Linked DNA regions of Homo sapiens: region 1 is linked to region 2. The links are contacts of gene promoters, found by promoter capture Hi-C in human tissues and cell types (Jung and others, 2019). All regions are on one chromosome and are shown on one strand. Each heading gives the region's core, a stretch centred on a gene start or on the middle of the fragment in contact. The rest is flanking DNA. Distances are from core to core; before and after follow the strand shown.

Region 1 (5,369 bases), core at 1,600-4,099, 47 kb before region 2:
AGTTAGCCAGTGGGGAGGTGGAGGCAGCTGTGATGTGGGAGTGGAAAGTGGGGTAGCATGCTACAGAAACCCACCCTGAACACAGAGAGTACAATTCTCAAAGAAAGGGGTTCTAAGCTGGCCAGATATCCCCGGGAGTCTACGAAACTATTTACAAAGACCCATTCTCTATTCATCAGAAATAAGCACTTTAGTTAATTAAAAAAAAAAGTTATTTAGGCCACATTCTGTTATCACAGTACAATAATATTAGAAATTAAAAATAAAAATGTAAATAAAAACAGTCAATAAACATTTAAAACACTCCAATTATGGAATAAGATAAAAACTATTCAAGAAAACTTATGACCTGAAATGATTTTATTATTAATTAGGAAAAAGTTAAAATAAATAAATCAAGAATTTTTCTCAAAAAGTTGGAAAAGAAACAGTAGAAAAAAATTAAGTCTAAGGAAAGCAGAAGGAAGAAATTGAGAAAGATAAGAGCTAAAATAAATTTTTAAGTGCAAAAATGGTATTAAATAAGTTCAGGAGCTGTTTCTCTGAAACAAAATAGACACTTCTCTGGCAAGTATAATTCATACAATATGAATATGTAACATTAAACATTAGAAAGGAGACAAATTTAGATATAGAAGACAGTTATAAAAAAAAGATATAAAAGAACACCTTCTACAAATAAATTTATTTGAAAAGCTGGACAAAATAAATGATTTTATAGAAAGATATAAATGACCAAAATTAATGCAAAAAGAAGTAGCAAAACTGAACAGAACAATAAACTTGGAAAAGTTGAAATTGTCATTGGGGAAAAAAAAAAAAAACAAACCTGCCAATGAAGAAGGCACATACAGCAGGTAGCTGTATAGTTGAGTCCAACTTCCGAGTAGATAATGTTAATGTTACCTAGAATTATGCGGAACACAGAAAAATATGAATAATCTCCCATTCATTTCACCAAGCTAATATAACTTTAATATCAGAACTTCACAATATTGGATAATTACAGCACAGTGTAACTTGTTCATGCTTCAAGACAACCCCCTATTTTGATGTGCATGGTGAAGACATGGGTTAATCGCTGATTTAGTTCATACAGTGCAGGATGGAAAGGAGGTACAAATCAAGACTGACCAAGAAAAGGAATGTCTTTCCCTGGAAACCGTGGATTCCATGTCCACAGCTGAAAGGGATATGGGGTTCCCTCCTTTAGGATGAGGGATGAGTGCAGTTGTGGTTGTACATAGAAATTCAGTGTTTGTAAACTCTTTAATATATATTAATATTTAAAACAGAAATTTGCTGTCTTGCCCTTTGTAGAAATAGTCTGCTGGCCCCTGCTGTATATGCTCAACATTTCTTGTTTAATTGCTCTATCCAATATTTACAGGATTTTTTTTTTTTTTTCTGAGACAGAGTTTTGCTCTTGTTGCCCAGGCTGGAGTGCAATGGTGTGATCTCGGCTTACTGCAACCTCTGCCTCCCAGGTACAAGCAATTCTCCTGTCTCAGCCTCCCAAGTAGCTTAGATTACAGGCATGTGCCACCATGCCTGGCTATTTTTATTGCATTTAGTAGAGACGGGTTTCACCATGTTAGTCAGGCTGGTTGCGAACTCCTGACCTCAGGTGATCCACCCACCATGCCCTCCCAAAGTGCTGAGATTACCGGCGTGCACCACCATGCCTGGCCAGAGGTATTATTAAATACTCACACTCCTGTGAAGTTCTGGTCAGTTTTTGCTTTATACATTCAATACAAAGATTTATAATGAACATATCTTCTTGGTTTCATTAAATGGTTTCACATCAAATTCTATTTCATATAATAATGTAATTTTTACTGTATTTTTGTTTGTATTTGCCCAATATGTTTGCCCATCCTTTAACTTGAAACTTTTTGCTTTAAGCTGCTTCTTATAAGGAAATAAGATTGATCTTGTTTTTTACTCAATCTGAAAACCTGTGACTTATAAGGAGGAATATAATAGATTAAAGCCTATACATTTATTGCTGTAATTGGTTTATTTGGAGCTACTCCCATTACCCTGTTTCTTGCTTTCAGTCAAAGTTAGGAATGAAATGCTGTATCAGCTAGATGGTTTGCAAGTAATAACCTACCCTTTCTTTTTCTTTTTTGAGACTGGGTCTCCCTATGTTACCGAGGCTGGACTCAAACTCTTCAACTCAAGGAATCCTCCCATGTAGCTGAAAGTACAGGCATGCACTAATGGGCTTAGCTCAACCTACCCTTTCTTAAACAACAAGGAAAGCTATTATCTCATCAACATCTGTCATATTCTGAGCCATAAAACAAACTTTAACAAAGTTTTAAAAATTGAAATCACATAAAATGTGTTCTGTGACAATAACAAAAGTCAGTAATAGAAAGATACCTGAAAATCCTAAAATATTAAACAATGCATATAACCCATGGATCAAGAAGGAAGTCTAAGGAGTAATTAGAAAATATCTTGAGCTGAATGAAAATTAAAAAACATACCCAAATTTGTAGAATGCAGCAAAAGCAGGGCTTAGGGGAAATTTATAGTACTAAATCCTTTTATTAGAAAAGAAGAAAGGCCTCACATTAATAATCTAAGCTTCTGCCCTATGAAACTAAAAAAAGAGCAAATTAAACTCAAAACAAGCAGAGGAAAGACATAATAAAGAGCCAAAAGCAACAAAATTGGAAACAAAAACAATGAAAATCAATAAAAACCAAATCTACTTCTTGGATAAGATTTTTAAAACTTGAAAAACCCCTAGCCATACTGACAAAGAAACAAAGAGAGAAGTCATAAATTACCAAAATCACAAAATACAAAAAAAATTAGCAGGGCGTGGTGGCAGGCGCCTGTAGTCCCAGCTACTCCAGAAGCTGAGGCAGAAGAATGGCGTGAACCCGGGAGGCAGAGGTTGCAGTGAGCAGAGATTGCGCCACTGCACTCCAGCCTGGGCGACAGAGCGAGACTCCATCTCAAAAAAAAAAAAAGAAAAAGAAAATTACTTCTGTTTGATTTATTTTTATGTTTTCTTCAGGAATACTAGTTATTCATATGTTGGATTTCCTTTCTCTGTCCTCTGCATCCATGTTTTCTCTCTTTGTTTCTGTTTTTCTTTCTTTCTTTCTCTCTTTCTTGCTTTCTGTTTTTCTTTCTTTTTTTAAGAGACAGCAACTCACTGTGTCACCCAGGCTGGTGTGCAGTGGCGTGATCATAGCTCACTGCAGCCTTGAACTCCTGGGCTCAAGCAATCCTCCTGCCTCAGCTTCCTGAGTAGCTGAGACTATAGGTGCACACCACCATGCCCAGCCTCTGTTTCTTTATTTTCTCTAAATTCTGGGATACTTTCTCAAGTTTGTGTTATCAGCTACTGCTGTAAAAAACCATCTCAAAATGTAATGGCTTAAAACTATTTCTCACAAATCTTTTTTTTTTTTTTTTTTTTTTTGAGATAGGGTCTCTGCCCAGGCTGGAGTGCAGTGGCACAATCATGGCTCACTGCAGCCTTGACCTCCTGGGCTCAGGCAATCCTCCCACCTCAGCCTTCTGAGTAGCTAGGACTACAGGTGTGCCACCATGCACAGCTAATTTTTGTATGTTTTGTAGGTAGACTGGGTTTTGCCATGTTGCCCAGGCTGAATTTCTCACAAATCTATAGGTCAGCTAGGTGGTTCTGTAAACCTGGGCTGGACTCAGCTAATCTCGGCTTGGCTTGCTCTTGTGTCTGTGGTCAGCTGGAGGGCTGACTAGCAGGCTAGTCATAGCTAATGTTGAAATGACTCGGTTCTACTTGAAGTGGTAACTCATTCTCCTGAAGGCAAGCCTGCATATGATCTCATGTCAAAGACAGAGGAGCAGTAAAGCCTCTGTGCAGGTCAAGTATGCAAATGTCTCTTTGACAAGTCACATGGCTGAGACCAAAATCAAAGTGGATGGGACTTCAAAGTTACAGGGCAAAGGGCATGGATAGAGGAAGACTATTAATTAGTGCCATTAATGTGATCAGTCTACCACATTTTTCTTTTGTTTTTTTTTTGAGATGAAGTTTCATACTTGTCTCCAAGGCTGGAGTGCAGTGCTGTAATCTTGGCTCACTGCAACCTCTGTCTCCTGGGTTAGAGCGATTCTGCTGCCTTAGCCTCCTGAGTAGCTGGGATTACAGGTGCCTGCCACCATGCCTGGCTAATTTTTGTATTTTTAGTAGAGATGGGGTTTCACCATGTTGGCCCCACTGGTCTTGAACTCCTGACCTCAGGTGATCTGCCCGCCTCGGCCTCTCAAAGTGCTGGGATTACAGGAGTGAGCCACCGCGCCTGGCCTTCTTTGTTTTATTTATTGATATTCTGCAGAATCAACTCTGTAGACTATATATTTTGTTACTGTGTTTTCAGTTTCCACACTGAAGGAGAAGACAGTCAGAGGACTGACACAACCTGCCTTCAAGACATACTACAATGCTACTGTAAGCCAGACAGTGTGGTATTGGTGTCAGAATAGACAAATAAGTCAATGGAACACAATAGAAAGCTCAGAAATAGACCCACATAAATATAATCAACTGATATTTGATAAAGGCTCAAAGGCACTGGAATGGAGAAATACAGTCTTTTCAACGTTGGTGCTGGAACAACTGGGCATCCACATGGAAAAAAAAGATGAATCATACACAGCCTTTACACACTTCACAAAAATTAACTCAAAATGGATCATAGAACTAAATGTAAAATGCAAAACTATGAAACTCCTAGAAGATAACATAGGAGAAAACCTAGATAACTTTGGGTTTGCAGATGACTTTATATTTATTTATTTATTTTTGAGACAGAGTCTCATTTTGTTGCCCAGGCTGAAGTGCAGTGGCATGATCTCGACTCACTGTAACCTTGACCTCCTGGGTTCAAGCAATTCTCCTGCCTCAGCCTCCCGAGTAGCTGCGACTACAGGTGCGCGCCACCATGCCCAGCTAATTTTTTTCTTTTTTGTATTTTTAGTAGAGACAGGGTTTCACTATATTGGCCAGGCTGGTCTTGAATCCTCACTTCAAGTGATCCCCCTGCCTCAGCCTCCCAACATGCTGGGATTACAGCATGAGCCACCACGCCCGGCCTTGGAGATGACTTTAGATATAACACAGAAGGCATGATCTGTGAAAGAATTGGTAAGCTGGACTTCACTAAAATTAAAATTTTCTCTCTGTAGAAGACACTTTCAAGAGAGTGAAAAGACAAGCAGAGACTGGGAGAAAATATTTGCAAAAGACATATCTGGAATATGTCTTTTGCAAAAGACATAAAGGAATATTACATGAAACATGCAAAAAAAACCCCACAAAACTCTTCAAATACCACAATAAGGAAACAAACAGC
Region 2 (5,182 bases), core at 2,194-4,693:
TAATACCAAGAAAAACAGTCTAAAAAGTTGTTTGGTGATTTTTTTCTACGCTGCCTACAACAATGAAGGCATTACAAAAATTCTTTCACTAAAATGTCTTGCAGGAGTCCATGCTGTAAACCTCCAAAGTGTTCATTAGTGTAGATTTGGCCAGCTAGTTAATATACATGTTTTGAGGGCAGAGTTCTTTCTTTTAGCTTGCCTCTATATGAGAAAAATGAAATTTCAGGAGAGGTCTGTTCCTAAGCCACATGGCATGTTTCTGCCTTTCTGACAACGTGACTTTGTCAGATGTTTGGGGACATACTGTACTCCTTTAGAATAAAGTGAGTATCATGAACAGCCATTTAACTTCAACTCTTCACACTGAGGGCAGGAGTGATTTGACTAAACTAACTATGGGTGTCTGCTGAATATAAAGATTTGTCTCGTGAAAATTAGCCAGAGAACAATAAAAACAGAAATTAAGTTGTAAAAATTTGCAGATGCACTATCTAAATATTGTTTAAACACTAGACTATACCCAATTCCTAGATACTAAAGACTGGCTGTGGATTTTTTTGAGTGAGAGGTACAGAGGTATTTGGCATTTGGCATTTTTTTTTTTTTTTTTCCCTGAGACAGAGTCTCGCTCTGTCACCCAGGCTGGAATGCAGTGGCACGATCTCGGCTCACTGCAAGCTCCGCCTCCCGGGTTCACACCATTCCCCTGCCTCAGCCTCCTGACTAGCTGGGACTATAGGAGCCCACCACCGCGCCCGGCTACTTTTTTGTATTTTTAGTAGAGACGGGGTTTCACCGTGTAAGCCAGGATGGTCTCGATCTCCTGACCTCATGATCCGCCCACCTCGGCCTCCCAAAGTGCTGGGATTACAAGCGTGAGCCACCGCGCCCGGCCGGTATTTGACATATTGAGAGTTTCAATTCTTATTCCTCAAAACTAAATTCCAGAGTTCCTCTGAATGTAACTTTATGGTTTATAGTAAGTAATCAGCCTACTTTAGACATGGAAACTTTTGGAAGCCCAGACACTATAACTGTCTTTATAATTTATGGAATCTCAAACTTCGTTGGTGCCAAAGTGTAAAATAGCAACCACCACCACCGTGTTTGGCAAAAAAAAGATGACTTTATGTGTCTGATTTGAGATGCTGCAGAAGGCCCAGGACAATTATGCAGCAAGGGAGGCAGCTTTCAGGATTGAGAGTTATTAACAAATTAGGCAAGAAACGGGGAACCATACAGCACTGGCCACTAGAACATTTCACGGGTGTCATTTATCTGACAAATTAAAAAATGTTTCCTATTTTCTAATGACAAAATGGATCAGAACCAGGTTAATTTCTTACTTTAATTTTTCACAAGATTCTGTTCATGTGCCACTCAGTAAATGGTATATTCCTACTCAAAAGCGCTACTTCCTCCTGCCCCAAATATGCAGGTCTTTAATTACACTTAGGAAAAAATTTCTAATTACTGCTGACATAGAACGGTAAAATTTTAACGTGAATTATACAACCTATATTATACAACATGATTGGTATGTCATGAAGTCACTCTTCTGCGCTTCCAGGCACATGCACTTGAGTTATTTTTAGGAGTGTAGTTGTGAAAGATTTGCAGAGGGGAGGCCTTTCCCGCCCAGTCCTCAATCATGATCAATGGCATGACTTTATAAGGCTGCCAGGAGTAAGGAGTGCTCTGGTCCTGAGTCACAGTACAGACCCACAGCCCACAGGCAGCCTGAACTATGACCCCGTCCCCTCCTCCCCGGCATGCCACAGTGTAACCAAGTGTACACACATACACCTGCTGCGTGCTTACTGCATACCACCACAGCCTTCCTCTGGAATCTAAAGCAAGACACCATTTTTCACATTTTCCTGTAATGTAATGCTTGAACTATTTCAGTAAGGAGAGGCTAGGATGGGCTGAATTAAGTCTCAAGTAAACAAGAGTATATAAACTTGCCAATATATTACAACTAGGGGTTGGTTTTAGATTGACAAACTTTTAGGATGAGAACTACTTTTTTTTTTTTTTTTACAAAAACAGGGTCTCACTCTGTCACCCAGGCTGGAGGGCAGTGGTGCGATCTCGGCTCACTGCAGCCTCGACGTCCCAGAATCGAGGGATTCTCCTGCCTCAGCCTCCCAAGTAGTTGGGAATACAGGCAAGTGCCACCATGCCTGGGTAATTCTTATTTTTTTTTTTTTAAAGACGGGGGTGGGGTGGGGGTCGTCTCACTATACTGCCCAGGCTGGTCTCAAAACTCCTGAGCTCAGGCAATCCGCCCGCCTCAGCCTCCCAAAGTGCTGGGATTACAGGCGTGAGCCACCGTGCCCAGCCGAGAACTACTTTTTCTAGGGACTAGGTCACTGTATCATAAGCTTTAAAATCTGTGTCGTGATTTTGGGTTCCTGATGTCACGTCTAGGTGATTCTAAAATTGACCACCGCTTGTCATCGTGCCTTGAATGTTATCATTTTTGTCTCTCACTTAGAACTTTGTTACTTTGATACAAATTCACATTGGAACCACTTAGTTCCTAGAGTCCCTTACAACAAAATCCTCTGCATCAAAAAATGGGATTTCTTTCTCTCATCCCTCTGAAACACTAAAGGCTTGGTATTCTGAAGCCAAAGGGTACATACAAGCTCACAGGCCTTCACCCAACATCCAGGAAAGCAATTCACAGGTGCTGGGCAGTCCACAGAGTCACTGAATTATCCCAACAACCCTGCTGGGCGGCACTAAAGCTCCATTTTACAGGAGAAGAAACTGGGGTGGCGGCGGTGGTTATATAACTTGTCCAAAGCCACACAGGCCTGGGCGTGGAGGCGCGGGGCTGTTATACACACGACTCCCAAACCTGAACTCTTCCAGTCTTGGCCCCGATCCTGCGAGACCTGCTCCTTCCGGAAGAAAGTCAAGTGGAGCAGGGAGAAAATGTAATCCTCTCCCAGGAAGCAGCCCGGGTCCCAGGGCGGCGAGGCTCTAGGGACGTTTCCGCCGCCCGCAGGCTGCGCGTGATTCAGCCTCAACCCTCCCGCCGAGCCCCCGCCGCCCCGGCAGATGGGCCGCCGCAACTGGCCCGTGTGCGCTTCCGGAAGCGGGCGACTCGCAGCTCCACGCGACGCCGAGGGGCTCCGCGCCGGGACCGGGCGGGTGCTCGGAGTTTCGGGGACCGCACGGGACCGAGGGCAGGCGGGCGGCCACCCCCCTTACCCCCGCGTCCGGGGCGGGGCGGGCGGCGCGGGGCGGGGCCGGGTGACGCGGCCCCGCCGGGGACCGGGAGAAGCGGGGACGCGGGGCCACTCACGCTGCCGGCTCCGGAGGCGGCACGCGGCCAGCGCTGCTCCGCTCCGGGGCTCTTTACCCCGGAGTCGGGGCCGGGCGCGCGGGAAACGGTTACCGAGCGGACCTGGACGCCCTCTGCCTTCGTCATTTCCTGCCGGCCGGTCGGTTTCCGGATGAAACGAGGAGCCAGGTCTTTTTTTTTTTTTTTTCCTTTCCCCTTTTCAGTTTTTTGAGCCGGAGAGACGCAGCGGCGGCCCCAGTGCCGCCCCCGGGCGCGTGAGTGGAGCCGGGCTCCTTTCCCCTACCGCGCCGCGACCCCCGCCCGGGCTGCGCGCGCCGCCTCCCGCGAGCCCCCGGCCCGACTCCCGGGCTCCCGCGGGTGGGGGCCAGGGCTGGTCGGCGCCGGCGGGGCTCGCGGCGGCGGCGGGTTGCGTCCCCCGCGCCTGCTGGCCCACGTGGACCTGGCCGTCGCTTGCCGTGCGGCGCCTTTGCGAAAACTCGACGGAAGTGGCAGGGACCGGGCATTACCTGCGAGTGCCGGGCGCCTCCTGCTCCGCTGTGCGCGCTTGGGGTGGGACTCGGCGGGGGAGGGGTCGTGTACATTGTCCCACCAGGCGCAATGTAGCCGGGCGGCGCAGAGGATTTCTTTTTTGGTCTTGAGAGCATAGAGTCCCTTTTCATATTCACGTGTACTCTTAAGAAAGCGTCTGTTCTCCAAACTGGCTTTCCATTCTCCCCGTCCTAAATGGTGCGTGGCTGACACCGTAGTGTTTTCAAAACTGGATATGGCCAGGATGCTATAGCATTGTCAGTGTAAGTCCCTTTTGGGTATTTTTATTTAATTGTGTAGTGACTTGACAGAAGTGTTTCCCAGCTTGACCTAAGTAATGAATTTGCATAGGATTTCAGCATCAGTATGGAAGTGATCAGATGTCAGTGGCTGGTGCCACCTTGCAGATAAATGGCCACTGGTCCACGTAGTTCGTCTTTACTATACATTTTGATTAAGTTCTCTAGGACCAGCTGACTGGTAATTATAAGTCACATGAAACCCTGCAGAGATGAGAGCTTACATTGAACACTTCTTAACAAGTTTTCTATTCTTTGTTTCATCTGTTACAATTAAACTCACCTTCGTCTAGGGTAAGACCATTACTTTACGCAATAACATACTAGCTTAATTTACGGTATTTATATGTATTTATATATATTGTATATACATAATCATACATATAATTCTATAACATTTAGTTTGACTCTAAAGTTGGAAAATCAGGAAAATAACAGGTGATGTTGAGTACTGATTGTTTGCCGGGCCTGTGCCAAATGGTGTGCATGCTTTATGTAACTTAATCTAAAAAAATTTGAATACGTGAGTTTGATTTCAGTGTGTCCAAATGTGAAACGTGTACATTATTGTTATTGTTTTGTTTTTTTTGAGACGGGGTTTTGCTCTCGTTCAGGCTGGAGTGCAATGGCACTGTCTTGGCTCACTGCAACCTCCGCCTCCCGGGTTCAAGCGATTCTCCTTCCTTAGCCTCCCAGGTAGCTGGGATTACAGGCGCCCGCCACCACGCCCAGCTAAGTTTTGTATTTTTAGTAGAGACGGAGTTTCACCATGTTGGCTAGGCTGGTCTCGAACTCCAGACCTCAGGTGTTCCGCCCGCCTCGGCCTCCCAAAGTGCTGGGATTACAGGCGTGAGCCACCGCGCCGGGCAAACGTGTGCATTAAATGCTTGTTTATGCCTTTGTAAAATAAGAGTGTTGGCAATATAAAATGTTACCCATAGAGTAAATTAATGTGTTTTTCAAGTTGGAAGATGGCTTTAAAAATTCATAGAAGTACAATTAGTCCCTTTATTTAGGTGCTGAATAGTTTCCA

Evidence for each region. Contacts are between HindIII fragments. The study calls those that stand out against the background at their distance.
Region 1: a fragment that was not itself captured here is called in contact with the fragment with the promoter of SMIM19 in region 2 in 1 of the 25 tissues and cell types used here (IMR-90 fibroblasts).

The regions. Positions count from the first base shown.
Region 1 is chr8:42,586,456-42,591,824 of GRCh38, reverse strand. No RefSeq gene overlaps it. Among named protein-coding and RNA genes, the nearest start is that of SMIM19, 48 kb to the right of the region's middle. The HindIII fragment of the contact is 4,227 bases long and covers 736-4,962 here.
Region 2 is chr8:42,539,846-42,545,027 of GRCh38, reverse strand. SMIM19 (small integral membrane protein 19) reads right to left here and starts at 3,443. Exons shown (of 4, transcript NM_001135674.2): 1 at 2,655-3,443. It also overlaps a transcript of SLC20A2 not described here. RefSeq lists an enhancer at 1,568-1,862 and silencers at 3,023-3,442, 3,583-3,862. The HindIII fragment of the contact is 13,050 bases long and covers 1-5,182 here.